7 separate regions of the Homo sapiens genome follow, and regions 1, 2, 3, 5, 6 and 7 are each linked to region 4. Evidence: promoter capture Hi-C in 16 types of primary human blood cells and fetal thymus (Javierre and others, 2016). All regions are on one chromosome and are shown on one strand. The core of a region is centred on a gene start or on the middle of the fragment in contact, and the rest is flanking DNA. Distances in the headings are between cores, read along the strand shown. Region 1 overlaps DAP (death associated protein). Region 2 overlaps ANKRD33B (ankyrin repeat domain 33B). Region 3 overlaps CTD-2154B17.1 (a long non-coding RNA gene). Region 4 holds the start of MARCHF6 (membrane associated ring-CH-type finger 6). Region 5 overlaps DAP (death associated protein). Region 6 overlaps ANKRD33B (ankyrin repeat domain 33B). Region 7 overlaps DAP (death associated protein).

What was found. The method cuts DNA at HindIII sites, captures the fragments that hold promoters and counts their contacts. A CHiCAGO score of 5 or more calls a contact.
Region 1: a fragment that was not itself captured here is called in contact with the fragment with the promoter of MARCHF6 in region 4 in 1 of 17 cell types (neutrophils); the score reaches 6.1 in neutrophils.
Region 2: a fragment that was not itself captured here is called in contact with the fragment with the promoter of MARCHF6 in region 4 in 17 of 17 cell types (neutrophils, activated CD4 T cells, naive B cells and 14 more); the score reaches 34.4 in neutrophils.
Region 3: a fragment that was not itself captured here is called in contact with the fragment with the promoter of MARCHF6 in region 4 in 8 of 17 cell types (neutrophils, naive CD8 T cells, total CD4 T cells and 5 more); the score reaches 10.4 in neutrophils.
Region 5: a fragment that was not itself captured here is called in contact with the fragment with the promoter of MARCHF6 in region 4 in 4 of 17 cell types (total B cells, naive B cells, neutrophils and 1 more); the score reaches 14.4 in total B cells.
Region 6: a fragment that was not itself captured here is called in contact with the fragment with the promoter of MARCHF6 in region 4 in 7 of 17 cell types (neutrophils, total B cells, monocytes and 4 more); the score reaches 23.6 in neutrophils.
Region 7: a contact is called between a fragment that was not itself captured here and the fragment with the promoter of MARCHF6 in region 4, in 2 of 17 cell types (neutrophils and total B cells). The highest score is 7.5, in neutrophils.

The regions. Positions count from the first base shown.
Region 1 is chr5:10,687,037-10,690,108 of GRCh38, forward strand. The region is part of intron 2 of DAP (death associated protein); the gene reads right to left. Among named protein-coding and RNA genes, the nearest start is that of DAP-DT, 72 kb to the right of the region's middle. The HindIII fragment of the contact is 2,969 bases long and covers 1-2,858 here.
Region 2 is chr5:10,623,923-10,627,276 of GRCh38, forward strand. All of the region lies in intron 2 of ANKRD33B (ankyrin repeat domain 33B), which reads left to right. Among named protein-coding and RNA genes, the nearest start is that of ANKRD33B, 62 kb to the left of the region's middle. The HindIII fragment of the contact is 2,727 bases long and covers 730-3,354 here.
Region 3 is chr5:10,773,891-10,777,376 of GRCh38, forward strand. It overlaps CTD-2154B17.1 (a long non-coding RNA gene), which reads right to left. Exons shown (of 4, transcript NR_188230.1): 3 at 3,074-3,171; 4 at 751-1,410. Among named protein-coding and RNA genes, the nearest start is that of CTD-2154B17.1, 11 kb to the right of the region's middle. The HindIII fragment of the contact is 6,699 bases long and covers 1-3,486 here.
Region 4 is chr5:10,351,981-10,355,122 of GRCh38, forward strand. MARCHF6 (membrane associated ring-CH-type finger 6) reads left to right here and starts at 1,715. Exons shown (of 26, transcript NM_005885.4): 1 at 1,715-1,937. The coding sequence starts at 1,919. MARCHF6-DT (MARCHF6 divergent transcript) reads right to left here and starts at 2,077. Exons shown (of 3, transcript NR_183261.1): 1 at 1,992-2,077. RefSeq lists enhancers at 1,274-1,533, 2,380-2,951 and silencers at 1,674-1,813, 1,854-2,323. The HindIII fragment of the contact is 4,878 bases long and covers 1-3,122 here.
Region 5 is chr5:10,733,927-10,737,287 of GRCh38, forward strand. The region is part of intron 2 of DAP (death associated protein); the gene reads right to left. Among named protein-coding and RNA genes, the nearest start is that of DAP-DT, 25 kb to the right of the region's middle. RefSeq lists an enhancer at 2,282-2,431. The HindIII fragment of the contact is 1,316 bases long and covers 963-2,278 here.
Region 6 is chr5:10,646,540-10,649,749 of GRCh38, forward strand. It overlaps ANKRD33B (ankyrin repeat domain 33B), which reads left to right. Exons shown (of 4, transcript NM_001164440.2): 4 at 2,727-3,210. Among named protein-coding and RNA genes, the nearest start is that of ANKRD33B, 84 kb to the left of the region's middle. The HindIII fragment of the contact is 8,941 bases long and covers 1-3,210 here.
Region 7 is chr5:10,715,303-10,718,564 of GRCh38, forward strand. The region is part of intron 2 of DAP (death associated protein); the gene reads right to left. Among named protein-coding and RNA genes, the nearest start is that of DAP-DT, 44 kb to the right of the region's middle. The HindIII fragment of the contact is 1,146 bases long and covers 1,410-2,555 here.

The DNA.
Region 1 (3,072 bases), core at 124-2,623, 330 kb after region 4:
TAAAATCTACTCTGTCTGTGCTCTATACATGGGATGACAGAGCCTGGATGACGGCACATTGGTTTACATCAAGGTTTACTGCTTATTTTAAGCCCACTGTTGAGACCTACTGCTCAGAAAAAAAGATTCCTTTCAAAGTATTACTGCTGATTTATAATGCTCCTGGCCACCCAAGACCAAGTATACAAGGAGATTAATGTTGTTTTCATGTCTGCTAAAACAACATTCATTCTGCAACCCATGGATCAAGAAGTAATTTTGACTTTCAAGTCTTATTATTTAAGAAATAAGTAATTCCACTGGTAGATTTGGGCAAAGTAAATTGAAAACCTTCTGGAAAGAATTTACTACTATAGATGCCACTAAGAATACTCATGATTCATGGGAGGAGGTCAAAATATCAATATTAACAGGAGTTTGGAAGAAGCTGATTCCAACCCTCATGGGTAACTTTGAGGGGGTTCAAGACTTCACTGGAGGAACTAACTGCAGATGTGGTGAAAACAGCAAGAGAACTAGGATTAGAAGTGGAGCCTGAAGATGGAACTGAATGGCTGCAATCTTGTGATTAAAATCCTCAGGGATGAGGAGTTGCTTCTCATGGATGAGCAAAGAAAGTGATTTCTTGAGCTGGAATCTACACCTGGTGAAGATGCTGTAAACACTGAAAATAACAACAAAGGATATAGAATATTATATAAACTTAATTGATAAAGCAGTGGCAGGGTTTGAGATGACTGACTCCATTTTTGAAAGAAGTTCTACCATGGGTAAAATGCTATCAAACAACATTGTATGCTGCAGAGAAATCTTTCTTTCCTGAAAGGAAGAGTTGATCTATGTTCTATGTCACAAACTTCATTGTTGTCTTTTTTTTTTTTTTTTTTTTTTTACAGAGGGAGAGGGTCTCACTCTGTTGCCCAGGCTGGAGTACAGTGGTGTGATCTCTGCTCACTGCAACCTCTACCTCCCAGGTTCAAGTGATTCTCATGCCTCAGCCTCCAGAGTAGCTGGGATTACAGGCACACACCACCATGCCTGGCTAATTTTTGTATTTTTAGTAGAGACAGGGTTTTGTCACGTTTGCCAGGCTGGTCTCGAACTCCTGGCCTCAAGTGATCTACCCACCTTGACCTCCGAAAGTGCTAGGATTGCAGGCATGAGCCATCACACCTGGCCTGTTGTCTTATTTTAAGAAACTGCCACAGCCACTCCAACCTTCAGCAACCACCACCCCAATCAGTCAGCAGCCATCAACACTGAGGCAAGACCCTCTACCAACAAAAAGACTGAGCCTCACTGAAGGCTCAGATGATCATTAGCATACAGAATTTTTAAATTTTTAAAATTTTAAATTAAGTTATGCATTGTTTTTTAGACGTAATGCTACTGTACACTTAATAGGCTACAGTGGAGGGTAAACATAACTTTTATATGCACTGTGAAACCAAAAAGTTGTGGGACTCACTTTATCACAATATTTGCTTTATTATGGTGGCCTGGAGCAGACCCTGCAATATCTCTGAGGTCTGCCTGTACATATTCATTATTGAAACGCAGACAAGCAAAACAAGTTAAAATCACTTGTACTTCTGTATTACTGTACGTGTGTATTTATAAAGATTGACACACACACACAACTACTGTCCCATCACAACTGCTGAATGGCCATGGAGACTCTGGAGGCTAAAGGAGATCCCCAGCAATGAGGGTGGTCTACCCTGTGAGTACGCCACCCTTTGCAGAGGTGGAGTGGAACTCCAGGACGCAGAGGCGCCATCCAGCAGTAGGGCGCCAGCCTGGAGAGGCCTCCATGTTGGGTGTTCCTGACAGGCTCCTTGGTTGAGCCCAGCCCCACTGTGTAGTAGCTGCCACGTGAGGCTCTCGGGGGACCTGGCTATCAGGAATCTGTCTCCAGCACTGGTCCCCTGTGTGCACTGAGGACGGGAGTCTGGAGCCCAGGGGCCTGCCACAGTCCCGCCCTTCCTCCCTGCCCTCGGTGCTCCTCAGAGGTGCTGTCCTCTGGGCGTCTCCTGCATTGATCACGACAAGGGTGGGGTTCTATGCCTCGAGTATGTACCCGGAGAAATGTGTGTGAACAGTGATGATATGAGATCATGACAGCTCTGCTCTAGCCTGAGTGCTGGAAAACACACACGGAAGCTGAGGCCTAGAAACCAGCCTCTGACTCCCAGGGCACGCTCTTTCCTTTCCTAAACCCACATTTAGCACCTCACTCCCATGTGAGCTGCTCAAGACACTGTCCCATCGCAACTGCTGAATGGCCATGGAGACCCTGGGGGCTAAAGGAGACCCCCAGCAGTAAGAATGACCCTCCCCCCACAGGCCCAGCTCATTCCAGGAGTGTCCAGGGCCATGGTTGCAGGTTGCAGCGTCTAAGAGTCCACAGGAGTCATTCACAGATGGCGCTGTCCTTGTGAAACCCCAAATTCACGGAGATAGCTCCTTTGTGCTGAGTCATGACTGAATCTGCTGAGCTTTAGTGGCTTGGTGGATTCTGCTCATAAAGACAGAGGATGTCAATGAAAATCATGCTAGGCTCAGCATAAGAAATGTGCCTCTGCCAACCACTGGGTGGCGAGGGGTGAGGTGAGGCCCACCGGGTGTGGCGATGAGCCAGGGACTGGTGTCCTTTGTGCTGCATCCTATACAAAGTGGCTAGTCATTCTGCTGGATGTGGTGCTGGCGACTTGGCTGAGTGATGGCAAGACTGAGGGTCTGATGCCGCAGTCAAAGGGACTCACTCAGGATGGAAAGGCCGTGAACTTGCCCTTGTGCACACCCTGAGGGCTGACTCCGAGCTGAGGAGCAGGGACAGGGAATGTCACTCAGTGGCAAGCTTAGGTCAGAGCAGTCTCTTGGGGCACAACCAAAACAGTGTGCATTCCACCTAATTAACCTGGGGAAGAACAACATGAAGGCCTGAGACTTCATCCTGCACTGCTGTGCTCCAGCGCCCCCATCTGTTTGGCACTGGTAAGAAATAAGGCACTGAAAGAAAAGAACCCCATGTGTCCAGCACTTCCGCAGGCGAGGTCCTTGCTTTAAGAC
Region 2 (3,354 bases), core at 843-3,342, 270 kb after region 4:
AAATGACCCCACATGAGCAAGGAAATTAGAGGTGAATACCTCTTCCACCTCACTGTCAGCCCTCTCTTCAGTCTGCTCTCTGGAGATAACTGTTGTTAATGATTTGATGCCTAGATGGGTTTACTCTGCCTTTTCAATTTAAATAAAATCATTATTATAATGTATTTTTTCTTTACTTCTTGTTTTCTTTCGTTCTTTCTTTCTTTTCTTTTTTTTTTTTTTTTTGAGTCTGAGTCTTGCTCTATCGCCCAGGCTGGGGTGCAGTGGCACAATCTCAGCTCTCTACAACCTCTGCTTCCCAGGTTCAAGCGATTCTCTTGCCTCAGCCTCCCGAGTAGCTGAGATTATAGGCGCCAGTCACCGTGCCCAGCTACTTCTTGTATTTTCAGCAGAGGCGGGGTTTCACCATGTAGGCCAGACTGGTTTTGAACTCCTGACCTCAAGTGATCCGCCCACCTTGGCCTCCCAAAGTGCTGGAATTACAGGCGTGAGCCGCCGGGCCTGGCCTTTTTTTTCTTTTTTACTGGCTTTTGTTATCTTCCCCTACTTACTGATTTGCTTGAGCTCTCTGTGGCCGCCACTGTGTGCACCCACCCTCTGGCCTGGGCTCTGATCCCTGGACACCCAACCTAGGCTGCTGCCTGAGGCTTTGGGACTGAATTGTTGAGGTTGCATACGGAGGCAGAGGGGAGAGGGACTTTACACCATTTAAACAAACACAGATTAAAAAGCTTCCTTGTGTGTGTCTTAATTGCCTCAATGTGCCGAAGAGATTTTCCCTAATTTCTTTCTGAACCTCCAGGGGCTGCCCCTGTCCCCATGGGCATAGTTTCCTTAGACACTGGCTCCCAATCTTGCGCCTCCGGCGTCAGCATCACCTGGGCTGGCTCATGTGAGCATTAACACAGATCTGGTGGAAACACAGACTGCCAGGCCCTGCCCCTGGAGTCTTTCTTTGAATAGGCCTGGGGTGGGGCCCAAGAATGAGCAGATCAACAGGTTTCCTGGTGAGGCTGATGCCACTGGCCCAGGGACCCCACATTGAGGATGGAGAGCTTTGAAGATTTTATGCCTGATGACGGCAAAGGACCCCTCTCAGTGGGCACTGAAGACCAGCAGAGTCACAGACCCCACGAGAGATGTTGTCAGACAGACACAGAGGCATCACGGAATTAAAGTGAAAATGAGGAAGGCAGGTGAGCATGTGTTCATGACTTTCCTGTGCTGTTTTGCCAAAGAGGCTGTTTAGGCCCAATCAGGTGATGTCCCATTTTAATCAATTTCATAACCAGTTTTATTTCTTTGATGATTTGTTAATTTCAAAAGCTGTCCATGCATATTTGCTTACAGCCAAAAATGACTACAAAAGTATTATCAGGGAGGAAGAAAAAGATCCCTTCTCTGTCTTCCAAATATTCCAGCTCCCTTATCAGCACTCAGGAGTCACCTCTTCAGACCTCATTCAGTCCTTTCCAAACACACACGTATGTATGTGCGCTTTGTATTCACATGACTGGGCTAGTGCTGTTGAGACTGTGTTTTTAGTGGTTTTGTTCACATGGTTATTAATCTAGAAGCTCCTGCTGTGTCGGTGTCCCTGAGCCCTGCCAGGCGCTCGTAGCCCTGCCTTCCTGCACGGGGATGTGTGGCTCATGCCCGGTTCCCCACCAAGACTTCAAATTTGAGAGGCTGCGTTATGACTGGCCTTCACTCACTGTGGTGGACCCGGCTCTTAGGCCAGTCCTTGAACATGAAGTACTTGCTTCTTAAATATTTGTTGGAAAAGAGGATATTGTGTAAAATGCATGAACCGTGGTATACTTAACTGTCCCAGTTACTGGACAGGTGGGCTTTTGAGTTAATCAACGGCAGCAAGGCTGTAGTGAAGTCTTTGGATCTGGGGTGCATCTCTGAGGACAGCGTGTTAGGATCCTGGCAGCTTGAAGCATGTTGAGTGACAGGTGGTCTCAGAGGGCTGAACAGAGGAGTTGATGAGGGCCTGTCAATTACGGGGGGAAGGGTAGAGTTAAGGGAACCAACATTGAAAGGATTAAGGGGAGGGACTCTGCAGAGAGTGACCCAGGCCAAGAAGCTGGAACCCGAGAGGCAGCCTCGGCCTAGAACCCGAGTGACACAGGCCAAGAAGCTGGAACCCGAGAGGCAGCCTCGGCCTAGAACCGCAGCCAGGGGCCGGAGTGGGAGGCAGGGCCAGATGTCCCGCTCCTTCCACCCTGGTCCCCTGCTGAGCCAACCCAGAAACCTCATTGGGGCGGAAACTGGGCAGGTGCTGTTGGTGCAGGTCAGCTTCCTAGGCCGAAAGCAGGGCAAGGAAGAGGAGAAGCAATGTGCAGACACACTCTTAGAACAGAATTGCTTCAGCAAGGGCTGTGCCTGTTTTAAGTGTATGCAGCTGCCAAGTGGTCTTTAGAAAGCTGTGGCGATTTCTCCTTTCCCCTGAGTGTCCAAGAGTGTTCTTGCAAGCCCTGGCTGAGATCAGTCTTTTCAGTATTTCCCTACTCAAATGAACCAAAACTCTGGTTTTCAGTTGTATTTCCCCAGCTCTCTTTTGAGCCTAGTACCTGTTAGGATGCTTTTGGCTTCAACCACAAGGACACTGCCTTCTCTTGCAACACAAGACATCTGCGGGCGATGTTGCAGGGTTGCTTCACTGAGTAGCTGGGTGATGCTGGGACCTAGAGCCACTTCTCAGAAATACATTCGCCTTTTCCTTCATGGTCCCAAGGTGGCCCCAGCTGCTAGAAGTGCCACGGCTTCACGTTGCAACACTCAGGGACATCAAGGAAGAGGAGCAAATCCCTGTCGGCGTTTCCCTTTATAAGACAGGAAAACATTTCCAGAAGGCTCCAGCAGAGTATCGTTGCCATCTCACCAACCAGGGTTGCGTCACAAGCCCGTGCCAAACCAGTGATGGAGGATGGCTTGTGTAGACAGCAGTCGCACTAAGCAGAATCAGCATTGTGAAGCGCAATCTTAAAGCAACCATATGTTTATATTATTTGCTATGGCAACTGGGTTGGTTGTCTGAGAGTTGGAAGCTCTGGGTTTCTGGAGGACACAGCATTTATGAGTACGAATTCGGATGCAAATGCCTTCATCTGCCTTTTGAGTGTTCTCTAAAAAGTCTAATTTCCTCGGCTATTTAATGCACAATAAAAATACAGCCAAATCTGTACTAGGTCTGTAAATGGAGAGAACGTTTGAAAATAAATCCCCATGTAATCCCTAAGTCTCATTTAGCCAGTCATTTCAACTTTCACCACCGCTCCACTAACAAAAATAAAATAAGATAACCAAAGAAAGGAACAAGAAGTCCCATGGATAGAGTTGTGTGTT
Region 3 (3,486 bases), core at 542-3,041, 420 kb after region 4:
ATATTATCAACTCAAAGAAATGTATGATATCACTGTTCCAACTGATTAGGTAGACATTCATCATTAGGGTGACAAAGAGAAGATTTCACATCTTACCACTCTCACCCCAGTGGTTCAACAACTTTTTAAATGATTGTAGATGACAGGAGAAGTCACAGGTCAGGGGTCACTACTTGGATGGTGATTGCCAATACAACCTTTTAATATAATCTGCCCATATTTATGTTGAAGCGTTTTATACACGTGGTACTTTAACGCTGTGTCAGAAATAATAATGTTCTAGCTGTACTGTACCATTATCGCTAATTGTAATTTTATTCTCAACTAGAGTACCTTTGAGTATTGTTTACTACAGGGTTGGTAAACAGTAGTCTGCAAGGCAGGTCTGACCTGGTGCCTGTTTGTGTAAAGTTTTATTGGAACACAGTCATGCCCATTTCTTTACATATTGTTCATTGCTGCTTTTTGGCTACAATGGCGGGGTTGAGGAGTCGTGGCAGACACATTTGGCCCCCAAAGTACAATAAATTGACTCTAGCCCTTTGCAGAAGGTTTGCCATCCCCTGCTCTGCTGCATCACTTCACACACCAACAAAGGCAGCAGCTCAAGGTTAGGCATAGACATTTGTAGACACAAAATCAGATCACAAATGCCTTCCTTCACATTTTAGCTCACATGCAGGTATCAGCAAAGAAGAGGAAACAAAGTGCTTTGTACTCAGAAAGTATTTCAGATAATGAATCACTTTATGATTTTCCATGATTTATTTTTAACTCTTACTTTTCCAATTATTTATTTATTTATTTATTTATGAAATGGAGTCTCACTGTGTCACCCAGGCTGGAGTGCTGTGGTGCGATCTCGCCTCACTGCAGCCTCCTCCTCCCGGGTTCATGCCATTCTCCTGCCTCAGCCTCCCGAGTAGCTGGGACTGCAGGCACTCGCCATCACGCTCGACTAATTTTTTGTATTTTTAGTAGAGACAGGGTTTCACCGTGTTAGCCAGGATGGTCTTGATCTCCTGACCTCATGATCCGCCTGCCTCGGCCTCCCAAAGTGCTGGGATTACAGGCGTGAGCCACCGCACCTGGCCAAGTATTTTAAGGCTTCTATTCAAAACTAAAACGAACTGTTAGAAAAAATGTAATATCTGAAATATATCATTCTGAATATATTTTTGTAAATATCTAATCACAAATGGTCATTTTTTAATGGAATAGTAAAGGCCAGACTTGATCTAACACCAGCAACAGTAAACAAGTGGGAGAAAAACAAACATCTCTCCATGAATCCAATTGCGTGAGTGCCCTTGTTCACTACAGAGTGCTTTTCTTGATGATGAAATAAGAATGTCTACCTTTAGAACAATTGTCATTCAGTGGGAGGTATGGAGTCAGCCTGGAGCACCTCTAAAAATAAAAAAATTATGAAATTCAGAAACTTATAAAATTCAAACATATTCCCTTTTCCTAGCAGGCAGTAAAATGACAGCCGTGTGAAACTCATGATTACAGTTAAGAAAGGAATAGAACAGAGGTCCCATTTGATCACTGTTGGGGTTAGACCTATTAGAAGATGCATGCTCTGGAAAAAGAAGCCAATGACGAGAGCAAAAGGGCCGAGCAGCCAGGGTTGTTGCTGTTTATGTCTTTGTTGACCTATCCATCCATAATCATATATTTTGAGCACCAGCTTTGCACGAGGCATCACCTTAGAGGTAAAAAAGAAAAAAATGAAATAAAAATAAGTCTTCCTCTAGCCTTATCATAGTTCTGCGAGGTCTTGGGTCTTTGGGGAGAACAGAGAGACCCCAGCCCCAGTGTTCACATCGCTTTGCCAATGCCCACACTTATGTGGGTATCTATCTGCAGCTCCATCATGCCCTGGAATGGCTCTAAGACATGCTTCTGTGCTTCTTGCTGCAGCTCCTCCCAGTGGCCAACAGCAATGATCTGTCCCCTGTCTAGGGGCTCCCATATACCCACTCTCCACCTGCCAGCAGAGCCCAGTCTGCACCCTCAGGTGGAGGGACAAACACAAGATGGGCCTGAGACGGGCTGGCTGAGCCTGAATCCAGCATTCTACCTTGATGAATCTCCTACTCTCTTGGCTTTCGATTCCCCCAGGGTAGAGCAAGGGGCTGTGTTCAGAGATGGATGGCTCCTCCAGCTTTAACCTGTTGAGTCTGCACAGGGAGCCATCTCCTGGTTGCAACCAAGTCAGGGCATGGAGTGGAGCAAGAGTTAGAGGCCCCACAGCAGGAGTGGACTCCACACCAAGATCCTCAGCTTAGCCTGGGAAGTTTGGATTTCTTTGGTTACGTTTAAGACACAAAACTGATTGAAGAGAGATTCACAATAGAGATTATGGAAACTAGCAAATAAACGGAAACATTGCTTCCGGCCCGTGAGTGGCAGGTTAGAGATTTAGCTGGGAACCTGGAACTTTGTCTTCCAATTCTGCTTCTGCCACTTGCTGGCTGTAAGATTTGGGGCAAGTTACTTCACCTATTCATACCTCAGTTTCTTCAAGAGTGAAATGGGAATATGAGGGGCCTGCCTCAGTGGGCCCTTGTTTAAAGAAGCTATTATGTTTAAAGACTATAGAACAACACAGGCAAACTGTGAGCACATGTTAGGCTGGTGCAGCACAGCCTCAGGGAACAGAGAGAAGGCCAGGGCTCTGGCCCTCATCTCTAACCCTGAGTGGTGACTCAGGCTGCTGCCCCAATGGCCTAAACAGTAGCTGCAGAGGCCTGACAAAACCCAAAAGCTATACAAAGGCTCAGGTCTTGGAGATCAGTCTAGGTTTTCACTGGTGAGAAGGAAGAGGCCCTTCAGAAGATCCTAGAGAAGCCCCCAGGCTCTGACATCCACGGCCAGTCCACAAACTCTCTACCACTGCTAGGCAAACAGGCAGCAACGGCTCTCCCTCCTTCCTCATTCCCACCAGCCTCCCAGTCCAGGCGTCTTTTTCTCTTTAAAGGTTCCCAGATGTGAATTTGAAAGGTAAGGAAGGAGAGGCAGACAAGAGAAGGGAAAAGATGTGGTTGGAGTTGCCCCTGATACTCACATTCTTCTAGAAAGAACATTCCTCAGCCTCCCACTGTATGCAAGGCTCTGAGCAGCTGATCGTCCAGACTAGTGAAGGCCCAGCTCTGTTCTGATGGGCTGAGATGGAAGAGAAAGATGTGTTAGGCAGAAAGAGAAAATATGTGTGTGGCAGAGGACAGAGGCTGCTTCAGACAACTGCTTGCAGGAGCTACAGGGCATGTACGCACACACATGCACACATGTAGGTGTACATGCACATATATAGGTACACACATGCACACACATGGGCACACATAGGTGTACACCTGCACACATGCATGCACACAGTCACATGCATGAATGCACACATAAACACAGGCACACACACACAGGCCTTCCGCATACATAAATACACACACAGGTATACACACACTCAGGCAGAGCTACTTTCAG
Region 4 (3,142 bases), core at 465-2,964:
CTTTGAACATCACAAGGGAAGGCACCTAAATACAAAAGGAAGGCTTCCTCCACGCCCCCCATACACACACATTCCCTTCATCCTAACCTGGCTCTGCAGCTCCGAGGGTCACATACCTGCCCTTGGCACTACTAGTACTTCCTCCAGCAAGTCTCAGTCTTTCTTTCAGAATCCTTCGCCCTTATGCCATGTAACATCTGATCGGCCCGGTCTTTGCCCCTAGTATCAGCAGGCCAATACGTGCTCTGCTACAGGTCTTACAGGGAGGGTGAGCTCTTGGAGTTGGATCAGAAGGAGAGGGGCTGGGGAAAGATCGTCTTCAAATTGTTTCTTTGGCGGTAGTATATATAAACATATTTAGGCAGGGCATAGTGGCACATGTCTGTAACCCCAGCACTTTGGGAGGCCGAAGCGTGAGGATCGCTTAAAGACAGGAGTTGAAAATCATACTGGTCAATATAGTGAGATTGCAGTGAGCCATTATCGCGCCACTGCATTCCTGCCTGGGTGACAGTGCGAGACCCCTTCTCAAAAAAAAAAAAAAAAAAAGAAAGAAAAAAATCATAAGCAAACAACAACAAAAAAACAAATATAAAGAATGGCGGTCTGCTTAATTCTCCGTGCCAGCCCTTGAAATCAGTGGGTATTATTATGTAGAGTTTGAGTTCTTTCCTCCCTTGAGTAACATGAGTGACATCAGTAACATTAGTCAAGCGCTGCTCTTTTTGAAAGACTGTATTTCATTATTTTTATTCTAAACCTTACTCTGTTTGATGAAGATTGGGGGAAGAGCCCTCCCAATTCCACCGCTCACACATAACAGCGGTTGCTAGCATTCTTTATTTGTGCTAGGTCATCTGCATATTGTTTAAACATTTTTCGAGGCTGGAAAGACTGCTCCCACTCAGGCAATTCTGACGTGGCGGCCCTTCTAATTTATATTCTCTAAATAATTCTTCATTTAGAGAAAACAGTCAGGGATTACAGTGAGGGAGGGTGACGTGCTGACGGGGACAGAGCTTGGCTTTTGATCATTCTCCCCTTAGCTCTGCCCAGGCAAGCGTCCCTAACTCAGGGTATCGGAACCGATCTCCCTTAGAGGATTATGTTTCAACCACCAGCCTCAGCGGTTTACTCAAATGTCCTTCCAGCCAAATGCAGAAGTCTCCCTGGGAGTAATTTTGGTGAAGTCAGCTTTTGCCTTTTTCATCACAGGCAGGCTTTAGTAGTTCCTCAAAACGTGCACCACAACTGCCCGGCTGCCAAACAGAAATGCTGATGCCTGGGCCCACTCTAGCCATTTGGCCTCGGCATCACGGTGCGGGAGCGTGGGGCGCAGACTCGCATTGTCACAGGAACCTCCCGGCCTTCCGAAGAGCCCCGCGCCGGGGCCTTTGTCTCGCACGTCGGCTGGGGCGGGAGCTAGGTTCTCGCAGCCTCCTCCCACCGCTCTGCGCCTTCTTTGTCCCTCCAGAAGCCGCCATCAAAGCTCAGCTCCTGATTAGGTTTCGGCCCCGCTGGCCGGCGCAGTCTCGGCGACTACCCCAGGCGGCCTGGCGCACGCGAGGATTCGCCGCGCCCCAGATGCAGGTGCCTCCCCTCCTTAGCCGCCGACCGACAGTGCACGCCGCGGCCGCCGGAAGTGACAGCGCCTGTCGTTGGGGAGCTCCCGCCCCTTCCGCCTCGGCGCCCCGCCCAGGCCTCGCCCCTAGGTGTTCCCGCCCCTCCCCCTCCCGTGTCGCTCGCTTTCTGTCAGCCTCTCTCCCTCTCCCTCTCCCCTCTCCTTCCTCTCGCTTCCTCTCTCGCACCTGAGCGTACGCACCTGCCCGGGCCCGGCTCCCTCCTCCTCTCCCCTCCCTCTTTCCCCGCCCGGCCGCGGGAGCCTCGTGGCTGCGTCACCGCCGCCCCCCCAGACAAGATGGACACCGCGGAGGAAGGTAAGTCGGCGACGCGCGGCGCCCGAGCCCTTGCGTCGGCGCCCGGGTTCGTACCCCGGCCAGGTCCGCGGCGCTCGAGGTGGGCTGCTGGATCGCGGCGGGGCGGACGCCTGGGCCGTTTGTCCACCCGCTGGGCCTCTGGGCCGGGGAGCGGAAGGTGACCCTCTGCGCGCCCCCCGCCGTTTCCCGCCCGCGCCGCCGAGGGGGGCGGGGACCCTGCCGGGCAGGGGCCGGGGCCGGGGTCGGGGCCTCGGGGCTACTGCAGGCCGGCGTGGCCTCCCTTGTCCCCGCCGTCGCGCGCTGGCCCAGAAAAGGGGGCCTCTGTCGCTGCCGTCCGGGGGCGTTTTCCGCACCCTTCCCCCACTGGGTTTTGTCTTTCTTTACGTCCTTCTGCCTATTGCTCGCCAGGCCCTACCCCCTCGCGACAGAACTTCTTTGTTGACTTTGAAACTTCGCGAAAAATACCCCGCCAGATGACGGCCGAGTGGAGTGAGCTGACCCCTGTTGAAAAGCCTGGTCCTCGGCTTGCCTGCCGCTCGAGAATCTGTTTACTAAACGGGGAGGCTCTTTTGTTGCGATCCATTTGGTTTTAAATCCTTGACACCTATAAGCAGGGTTCTGTTTGTTTTGTTTTGCGATTGCTTGTGTTTTGGATACGGTTACATTGAACAAACTGACCCTTGTAAAATGAATACTTAAGATATAAACGTCCACACCTTATGTCTCTTCAAACGCATTTTCTTACCCACTGAAGGTAGTAGATTATTTTTAACCAGCTGTGTTTTTAAATGAGTGGTGAGTTTATAGAGGAAATTACTAAATTTTGCTTTTTTTGATGTTCCGGTTATCGTGCAAATGCTTTTCTACTTTAGGTATATTTATGGGGGTATGAGCGTCTTTCAACCTTATGGGTTGCGATTTTGGCGATTTTAAACGAAAATGAATTATCAAACGCCGTCATGGAGTGCAATAATGAGTGAAAAAAGTTTGATATTATCTATGTAATGAGTTGATAACGACTTATTTTTTTTTAAAGAAGTCTTGCCTTTAATAAATACCTCAACTATAACATGTGGCACTTGATGTACATTCGCGTTCCATCTTCGTAAAAAGCCTGTGGAATAGGTAGGTATTATCTTTTATAGATGTGGAAATGTAGGCTTCGTTATTTTAATAGCTTGTCGAAGCTTTACACAGGTAGTAAG
Region 5 (3,361 bases), core at 371-2,870, 380 kb after region 4:
TAGTCATTTTAATGTAATAAACTCAATAAGGGCTCTTACTTTCATGTGGTTATTATTACATATTTCATTCTATAAAATCCAAGCACTGGAGAGTTGATTTAAATTCAGTTCATATGTTTATGTAGTAAGAAAACACTCCTGATAAATAGTGCAACCTTTCAAGTCACACCATAAAAACAAAGGAGCCTCCGTTCCAAGAGGATGACTGCAGTGCAGACACACAGAGCAGAGCCTGGAAGGGAGAACTGATAGCCCCATTTCCTTTCTTCCCTCCTTCCATCAGATCAAAACAGTCCTGCCGGTGTAGATAGGAGTGTGGCAATCTTAGAAGGAGGCTGGGACCTGTGGAGGGAGAGAGAGCAGGAAGGGGCCATTCGGAAGCTCATAAATCACACCTGGTTTCCACATCCGTTATGTAGCCAGAGTTGTACAAATACTGTCTCAAAGCCTATTACCAGAAGCCACTGGCCCTAGAGGAAAGCCTGGCCGCCCGCACTTTCTTTCTTATCCCCAAATCTAAGGAGTTCAGCCAGGATCTCGGACATATGGGTACCCATATGCTGTGCCGCTCTGTGGCGAGGCTTTGATTCACTGCCTGCCAGCCTCAAGCCTTTCTCTGGCATCCACCTCCAGGACAGGAGGAATCAGGCTAGATTCACTGGGAATCCTGACAGTGCTATTACCCTGTGTTCCTAGGGCGACTCTGAGCAAAACTCCTTAAAATACTCACAGCGTCATTTCTACTGATCATGCTAAAATACACATATCCACAGGTGTTGGGAGAAATGTTTAATTTCTATTATATACAACAACAAAAGTGGTATTGGGCCATGATGAATTAATCCATGATTAAGGCAGTCCCATGTGCTTAAGAAGGCAATTATTTAGCTGGGAAAATGAGCTAAACATGAAGATATATTCTATTTACATTTATTTTTTATCTAAAGAAACAAAATGAATTAAGCTTTGCCACTATTTACTATGTGGCCCCCAGGCAGACTGTCCCTCACCGGCCTCCTGGTCCTGAGAGCTCCCAGGGAAGCCGTGGGGCCGCCACCCAAAGGCCTCCATGCCCTTCATCTGCTTTCAGTGTCTTGCAACATACCCATGACTCCATCTGGTTAACGGGGTAATGAGTTCAATTCTCTAGTATCATCCTCAATATATCCCAAGTGCCTCAAACTGTGCTCAGATGATGAATTTAGAGTGAATTTAAGCTAACTTTTACAAAATGGACAAGTAGCTTAAAAAAAATTCCTGAAAAAATAACCTCTGGAGGCCGAAGTTAATCTCAATACAAGCACAAGTGAACATAAGCAAAGGGAAGCGCTCCTGCCTGTCGTCATTGGTCTCCATGTTACAAATACCAACAACCTAGTCACATGTGACAAGAAGCAGCTCTCCCCAACAAAACCTGAAATTGCCTGGAAGCCCATTAGAAATTTAGATTTACATCCTGAATCATTAACGAGAAATCCCATCTCAAGGGTATCTGGACCTTGAGATGAGCTAATGATAGTACCAAGTCACTAGAAATAGCAAGACATTTAAAATACTGCTGATTTCATCTTTATCAAATATCTTACCATTCATTTTGTATATGTTTCATAACTTATATAGTGGTAATGCAGTGCACATGTATACTTTTAAAATGAATACTCATATGCTGGGGATGCATGCAGAAAACATTTTTCTTAATTGATGGAGTGTGTGATCAAATTTGGGGCCACACCACTGTACACAGCATGCCCTTGGTCAGGAAAATGGGCTGCTGCAGTGCTCAGCCTGAGCAACAGTAAACACTGGCATAGGGGAAGAGAGAATCATTTGCCATGTAAGCATCATAGTTAATAAATTATCGTGCTGTCATTGCTGTTGGAATGCCAACAGAGCCAGGTACTGCCAGCTGACGCCTAGTAGCACAAGGTGCTGCTTGCTTGTTGTGGGTTGAATTTACGTTTCCCCCAGAAACAGAGGTTGAGATCCTAGGCTCCAGTACTTAAGGGCATGACCTTATCTACAAACAGGGTTGTTGCAGATGTAATTAGTTAAGAAGAGGTCATACTGGAGAAGGGTAGGCCCCTAATGCAATAGGACAGGTGTCTTTATAAAAAGGGGAAGTTTGGTCACAGACAGGCACACAGGGAGAACGTCAGGCAAAGGCAGCAGAGTGAGGCTGCCACCAGCCAAGCACTATCAGAAGCTGCGAGACAGGCCTGCGACAGACCTTCCCCAGCGCCTGCAGAGGGAGTGTGGTCCTGCCAACACCTTGATCTCAAGCTTCTGGCCTCCACAACTGTGAGACGAAACATTTCTGTTTTTAAACCACCCAGTTTGTGCAACTGTGTTATGGGAGCACTAGGAAAACTAATGTGCTGCTTCTTGGTGGAGAGGCAGCCAGCCTGCCTGGAAGTTCTGCCCACTCTAACCTGGGTGGAGATGAGAATGGCTTTGTCCTAATGGCAGATCTCGAAGCTGCCATTAGGACAGCCTGCAGCCTCTGGAGAGGCTGCCAGACGCCAACCCTCCCTGGGCAGCCTCGCTTGCACAGATGTCATCCTGCATGGGGCTTCACACGCAGCGGATGCTGCCAGCAGACTCGGCTGCCGTCAGGGGGTTTGAGGGCTTGTGCTTGTTCTGTCAACTTTCTGCCGCCCAAGTTGCCACAGGCAAAACGCTTCCTTTTACCACTCCCTTGCTGGCACATAAACGGTGACACTTCAGCAATGCCCCATTTTGCCTACAAACTTGGTCTCTGAGTCTCAGTCTGACAAACCTGACAGGAAGAACTGCCCAACAGCAACGGGAATCTTCCTGATTCTCCTTCCCAGGGCAGATGGGCTATTTGTTACTATTTTATGCTGCCATGAAATCAGGCCTGCTTTTTATTCTGAGGGTCTTGCTGTACCTTCCTTACAGCTTCTCCCTGGAAGAGGCCTCTCAGTCCATAAGCAGTGACAACCAGTTACCCCCTCAAACAGACACTACATGTCACTCAGTGCCTGGGCCATGTTGCGGCTCTGCCTTTGGCCAGTGCAGGGCTCTGTGGCCCGTGGCACTCCAGCACCTGGGTCAGCTGCTGCTGGCAAGTGGTGGGCCCTGTCTGCCAGCACAGGGCACTCACAATATTGGAGCTGAGCCAGGTACGGTGGCTCACGCCTGTAATCCCAACACTTTGGGAGGCTGAGGCAGGCGATCACCTGAGGTCAGGAGTTTGAGAGCAGCCTGGCCAACATAGTGATATCCTGTCTCTACTAAAAATACAATAATTAGCTGGGCATGGTGGCATGTAGCCTGTAATCCCAGCTACTCGGGAGGCTGAGGCAGGAGAATCACTTGAACCTGGGAGGTAGAGCTTGCA
Region 6 (3,210 bases), core at 624-3,123, 290 kb after region 4:
CAAAACTTTGGACAGATCTTCCTCTGGTTTTCCATTAGCATTTGAAAAATGTCTCTTTCAGGCAGTGTTCATTAAGATTTTAATTTTATAGTTTGTTCCTTTTTTAAGTGACATGCAATTAATTAAGGTTTAATGTGTCATCTATTTTTTGCAATGACACTTTTACTGCCCCCTTTTCATTTTAGTCAGTTTATAAATTGTACTCTAGCTAATGAGTTCCATCCTGATATCCAGTTCCAAATAATTACCACTCTTCTAATATGGCTATTCTTTAATGTGTCACAGAACTAAGATCCTTACCAGGCAAGCTCAGGTGAGCTGGGTCTGCCAGAGCCATGAGGCCACTGTGGGCCAACAGGCCAGGGCAGTGGCTGGGGACCCGACCTTCCTCAGTTCAGCACACGTTGATCAGCCATCACATGTCAGACTCCTGGGTCTGCATGGGATATAAATGAAGAAGCGTCTGTCGGGTCCGGTCCCCTTTGAGCTCACAGACTAGATAATTGCCCTAGTTCTCCATGTTGCTTTGCTGGTGGAGATATGACTAATGGGACTTGAAATCCTCAATGATTTTTTTTTTTTTGAAATGGAGTCTTTCTCTGTTAATCAGGCTGGAGTGCGGTGGTGCGATCTCGGCTCACTGCAACCTCTGCCTCCCGGGTTGAAGCGATTCTCCTGCCTCAGCCTCCTGAGTAGTTGGGATTACAGGTGCCTGCCACCACGCCCAGCTAATTTTTTGTGTGTTTTTAGTAGAGGTGGGGTTTCACCATGTATTGGCCAGGTTGGTCCCAAACCCCTGACGTCAGGAGATCTGCCCTCCTCGGCCTCCAAAGTGCTAGGATTACAGGTGTGAGCCACTATGCCTGGCCCCTCAATGATTTTTAACAGTATGTGGGACTGAGATTGGACCAAGATTAATTGAACAGCAATTCCGTATTAATTTCTATACTACAACATTGAAATTTATGCAGATTTCATCAAGTTGAGTTGAAGTTTAACTTTGCAATATTTGGGGGCAGTGGGTGGACTGGGGAGATTTATTAAGGGAGTGACTAGTGTCAGGGAGACTGTGTAAGGGGACCTATCAGTCAACCAATAGGATGTGGATATCAAGAGATTTATTTTAAGGAATTGGCTGTGTGGTTTGGGGGGTTGGTGAGTCTGAAACTGGTGCGGTAGGCTCGAAGGCTGGAAACTCAGGCAGCAGTAAGTAGATGCCGCAGTCTTGAGGTGGAATTTCTTTGTTTCCAGGAAACCTTGGTCTTTGCTCTTAATGCCCTCAACTAATTGGGCGAGGCCCACCCGCATTATGAAGGGTAATCTCCTTGACTTAGAGTCAACTGATTATAGATGTTAACCACAGCTGCAAAATACCTTTGGGGCAACACTTAGATCCATGTTTGATTAAATCACTGGGTATTCTAGCCTAGCCAAGTTGACATAGAAAACTAAAACTGACCATCACACCAGGACTGCCAGGTGGTAGGAAGTACATTAGACTGAGGTTAGGACACCCAAGTCTTAGACCCTCTCTCTGTTACTAGCCCACAGCCACTGTGACTGCCATTCTTTTTGCAACAAGCCTTTTAAAAATTCATGCCCCCTACCCACCAGGATGAAACGTGTTGAGCAAACAAAAATGAATTTTTCTATCCTGGAAAAGCCCACCATCGGTTAAAGGTAGACAGACCCCAGCCAGCTAGGCCGCAGTGGGAGAAGCGAAGGAACCACCCATTTCCCACAGTCCAGGACCCATGGCAGTCCTCAAGAGTGAGACCACAGCTGGGGTGCCACCACTTTGCAAGTGACTGTTACTGGTCATATTTTTAGAACTTTCTAGCCACAGCATTCAAGTATGCAAGGCAGCTTTGTTGTCTGGTCATCTCTCCATTGATGGAAAGCTATAGGATCTTATTTCTTTAAAAAATTCTGTAATTTGGCCAGGCGCAGTGGCTCACGCCTGTAATCCCAGCACTTTGGGAGGCCGAGGCGGGTGGATCACCTGAGGTTGGGAGTTCGAGACTAGCCTGACCAACATGGAGAAACCCCCTCTCTACTAAAAATACAAAATTAGCCTGGCGTGGTAGCACATGCCTGTAATCCCAGCTACTCGGGAGGCTGAGGCAGGAGAGTCGCTTGAACCCGGGAGGCAGAGGTTGCGGTGAACGGAGATTGTGCCATTGCACTCCAGCCTGGGCAACAAGAGTGAAATTCTGTCTCGAAAAAAAAAATTCTGTAATTTAGGTGCTGAATTCAGGCGGGGTTTTATTCAGGACAGATAATCAATGGAGCACTTAAAAGGCAGGTTGGGCTGGGCACGGTGGCTCACGCCCGTAATCCCAGCACTTTGGAAGGCGGAGGTGGGAGGATTGCTTGAACCCAGCAGTTCGAAACCAGCCTGGGCCACATAGCCAGGCCCCATCTCTACAGAAAATTACCTGGGCGGTGGTGTAGCCCCAGCTACTCGGGAGGCTGACTTGGGGGGATGGCTTGAGCCCCGGAAGTCGAGGCTACAGTAGGACGTGTTCCCGCCACTGCACTCCAGGCCCGCCTTCCGGCGCTCAGATGAGCACAGGGTTCGCAGAGTGAACTAGGTGCAGTCTGTTAGGAGGCTTGGGGCCAGGGGTGGGGGGTGGGGGCAGTTTTGCCTTTGCCCCAGGCTCTGCCTGGGAGGGAAGAGTCCTTGTTGCCGCCACCCACTTCTGTTTGTGTTTTGCGTTTTGCAGGGGCGGATGTCCACGCGAGGGACCCCCGCCGTGGGATGTCGCCGCAGGAGTGGGCCACTTACACGGGCCGCGTGGATGCCGTCCGTCTCATGCAGAGGCTGCTGGAGCGCCCCTGCCCGGAGCAGTTCTGGGAGAAGTACCGGCCCGAGCTGCCGCCGCCCCCTGAAGCGGCGCGGAAGCCCGCGGGCTCCAAGAACTGCCTGCAGAGGCTCACAGACTGCGTGCTGTCCGTGCTGACGCCGCGCTCCGTGCGGGGCCCGGAGGACGGGGGCGTCCTGGACCACATGGTCCGGATGACCACGAGCCTCTACAGCCCCGCCGTGGCCATCGTGTGCCAGACCGTGTGCCCTGAGAGCCCTCCGAGCGTGGGGAAGAGGCGGCTGGCGGTGCAGGAGATCCTGGCGGCGCGGGCTGCACGGGGCCCCCAGGCGCAGGAGGAGGATGAGGTGGGGGGCGCGGGGCAGCGCGGGCGGACCGGACAGGA
Region 7 (3,262 bases), core at 733-3,232, 360 kb after region 4:
GAATGGCAGCCAGATTACAGGGCCCAGGACAGCAACAGGAGCAACTTCCAACCCATCAGGCTGATGCCCCACCCACCTCCAGGTGCCACTCACTCCAGTTCTAAACAGTGCCTGGCCACACCTTGCACCACTCCACCCTTGGGGACATGGAGTAGAAGCCTGAGCTGCCGGGGGCTTCCTACAGCAAAATCTTCTGAGCTTGAGAAACGCAGGCAAACTGGCAATGTCTTGTGGGTCAATTACCAGGCAGTTCCTGAAGACCCAGCAAAGGTACTTTTGAAGAAGCTGCTGGGTCATTTCTAGGTACATAGCACCTCTCAGAAGCAAAAGAAAAATGCTAAGAAGAATTAACGCAGTTGTTAGGAAGTGAGTGAGTTAACTAAGGTCTCAAGGAAAACAGGGGTGAGTCTTCCGATGCCACGGAGAGAAAGGGCAGGCTGCTGTAGGCAGGGAGGCTGTTAGCCTCATTTATCATTCATGCCCCCTGGCCCTGGGAACTCACCATGGAATTCCAACAAGGAGCTGGCACTGAGGTATTTATTGCTTTCTTTGCATGTCAGCTTGTCACACGTAACAATTAATTTGATGATCCCAAATTGGACCTGACAGGAAACCTCTCGATAATACACCATGCCTAGATTTAGCAGAGATAAACACTGCTGTTAATTTCTCCAGCAGAGGATGTGAGTATCAACCCAGGGCTGCTTTCATTAATTTCCATCTCACACAATGTGGGCCCACCTCATATTGGCATTGCTCCCTTTAGCTGATAGCTGTGGCCAGTTTTAGAAGTGTGGTGTCCTAGGGTTGCCTGCCAATCATTTCCCATTTTCAAAGTGATGAGAACGTGACAGGGGACACAGACATTGAGCTCCATCGGTGAAGAAACAGCGGGCAGAATGAAGCTGGATAAGCCCTGAAACTGCTGGTAAGAAGATAAAATGCGACTAAGAGAAATTGTGCTTTCAATGAACTTTTCAGGAACACATCTATCGTGCAGAGTAAACTCCTTCGAAGTCTAGATATCTGTGGGTAGTAAGAAAAAATAATATTTTTTCTCTCCCTCCACCCCTATACTAACTGTGATGGTTAGTACTGAGTGTCAACTTGATTGGATTGAAGGATGCAATATTGATCCTGGTGTGTCTGTCTGTGAGGGTGTTGCCAAAGGAGATTAACATTTGAGTCAGTGGGCTGGAGAAGGCAGACTCACCCTTAATTGGGTGGGCACCATCTAATCAGCCATCAGCAAATATAAAGCAGGCAGAAAAACATGAAGCAAGAGACTAGCCTAGCCTCCCAGCCTACATCTTTCTCCCATGCTGGACGCTTCCTGCCCTCAAACATTGGACTCCAGGACTCCAAGTTCTTCAGTTTTGAGACTCGGACCTGGCTCTCCTGGCTCCTCAAGCTTGCAGACAGCCTATTCTGGGAACTTGTGATCGTGTAAGTTAATACTTAATAAACTCCCCTTTATATGTATGTATCTACCTATTAGTTCTGTCCCTCTAGGGAACTCTGAGGAATACAGATTTTGGTACCAGGAGTGGTTGTAGAGGAACAGAATATTAAGGATGGAGTTCTTTCATTGGTTTTGGGGTTTCTGGAGTTGGTTGCTTAATATGATTAGACCCCAAAATGCTAAGGACTCTGCTTCTAATAGTATGGAGAATACTGATAAGTCCTAGGCGGAAACTGTTTAGACTTATGCAAAATAAATGCATTTGGCACTCCTGATTCACCGCTTGTGAGAAGCAAGGAGTTCACTCACTCTATACATAATACCTTTGACCATATGTGGAGAACCAAGGAACATAATGCAGCTTGTTGGTTGCTCCCAAGTTCAGTGGACAAACTGATGAAAGAAAATGATGAACTCAGGGATTCTGTCTCCGGGCTTCAGAAGCAGATACTGAACCTCAAATCTGCTAAGATTGCCCTGAGTGAGAGTCTTACCTCCTGTAGAGAAAGAGCTGAAATTGTGGAAAAACAGACACAAGCCCTTATGATGTGAGTGGCTGACCTGAAACAAAAGGTTCGTGCACAGCCTCGCCAGGTGTCTACTGTTAAAGTGAGGGCATTGATTGGAAAAGAATGGGACCCTGCAACTTGGAATGGGGACATTTGGGAGGACCCTGATGAAGCTGGGCACACTGAGTTTGTAAACTCTGATGAACCATTTTTGCCAGAAGGAATTTCCCTATTCCCAGTAGTGGCAACATCCCCTTCCCGACCCATGCTGCCACCAGCCTTTGCACCTCTGTCTGAGGAGATAAACCCTGCGCTGCCTGAGGGAACAGTGATGACCTCTTCTGAGGCAGTTGCCAGGCAAGATAATGTTGATTCTCCTCAGAATCCACCCCAATACCTCTGTTTGCTAATTAGATACCAAGGTGGCAGGGGCCAAGTGGCAGCACTCGACCATCAAAGGCAAGGTGGGTGCAGCTACGACAATGAACGGCAGAGGCAATGAGGCAATCAGAATAGTCTGACTAGTGTAGAGCTATGGCATTGGCTAATTAATCACAGTGTTCCTAGAAGTGAAATTGATAGGAAGCTTACTGCATTCCTACTTAATTTATACAAGCGGAAAGCTTCTAGGTGAAATGGATAAAAGACTAATTTGAATTAGAAAAACAGAATCACGGCTCCTCAATCAATTTCCAGACTTGAGTCAGTTTACACACCCAGAACCCCTTGAATGAAGGGGAGGCTGGGTCCCCTTGAGGAAGGACCCTACTACATTACCAACAATTTATGCAACAAATCTTTCTCCCATCTTTCCCCAAGGTGACCTCTGGCTTTTTACCAGAGTAACTGTGGATTGGGGAAAGGGAAATGATCAGACATTTCAGGGACTACTGGACACTGGCTCTGAGCTGACGTTGATTCCAGGGGACTCAAAACATCATTGTGGTCCTCAGTTAAAGTAGGGGCTTATGAAGGTCATGTCATTAACGGAGCTTTAGCTCAGATCTGACTTACAGTGGGTCCAGCGGGTCCCTGGACTCATCCTGTGGTCAATCCCCCAGTGCCAGGCTGCATAATTGGCATAAACATACTTAGCAGGTGGCAGAACCCCAACATTGACTCCCTGACTAATGAGGTGAGGGCTATTATGGTGGGAAAGGCCAAATGGAAGCCATTAGAGTTGTCTCTATCTAGGAAAATAGTAAATCAAAAACAATATTGCATTCCTGGAGGGACTGCGGAGTCAGTGCCACCATCAAGGACTTGAAAGACGCAGGGGTGGTGACTCCCA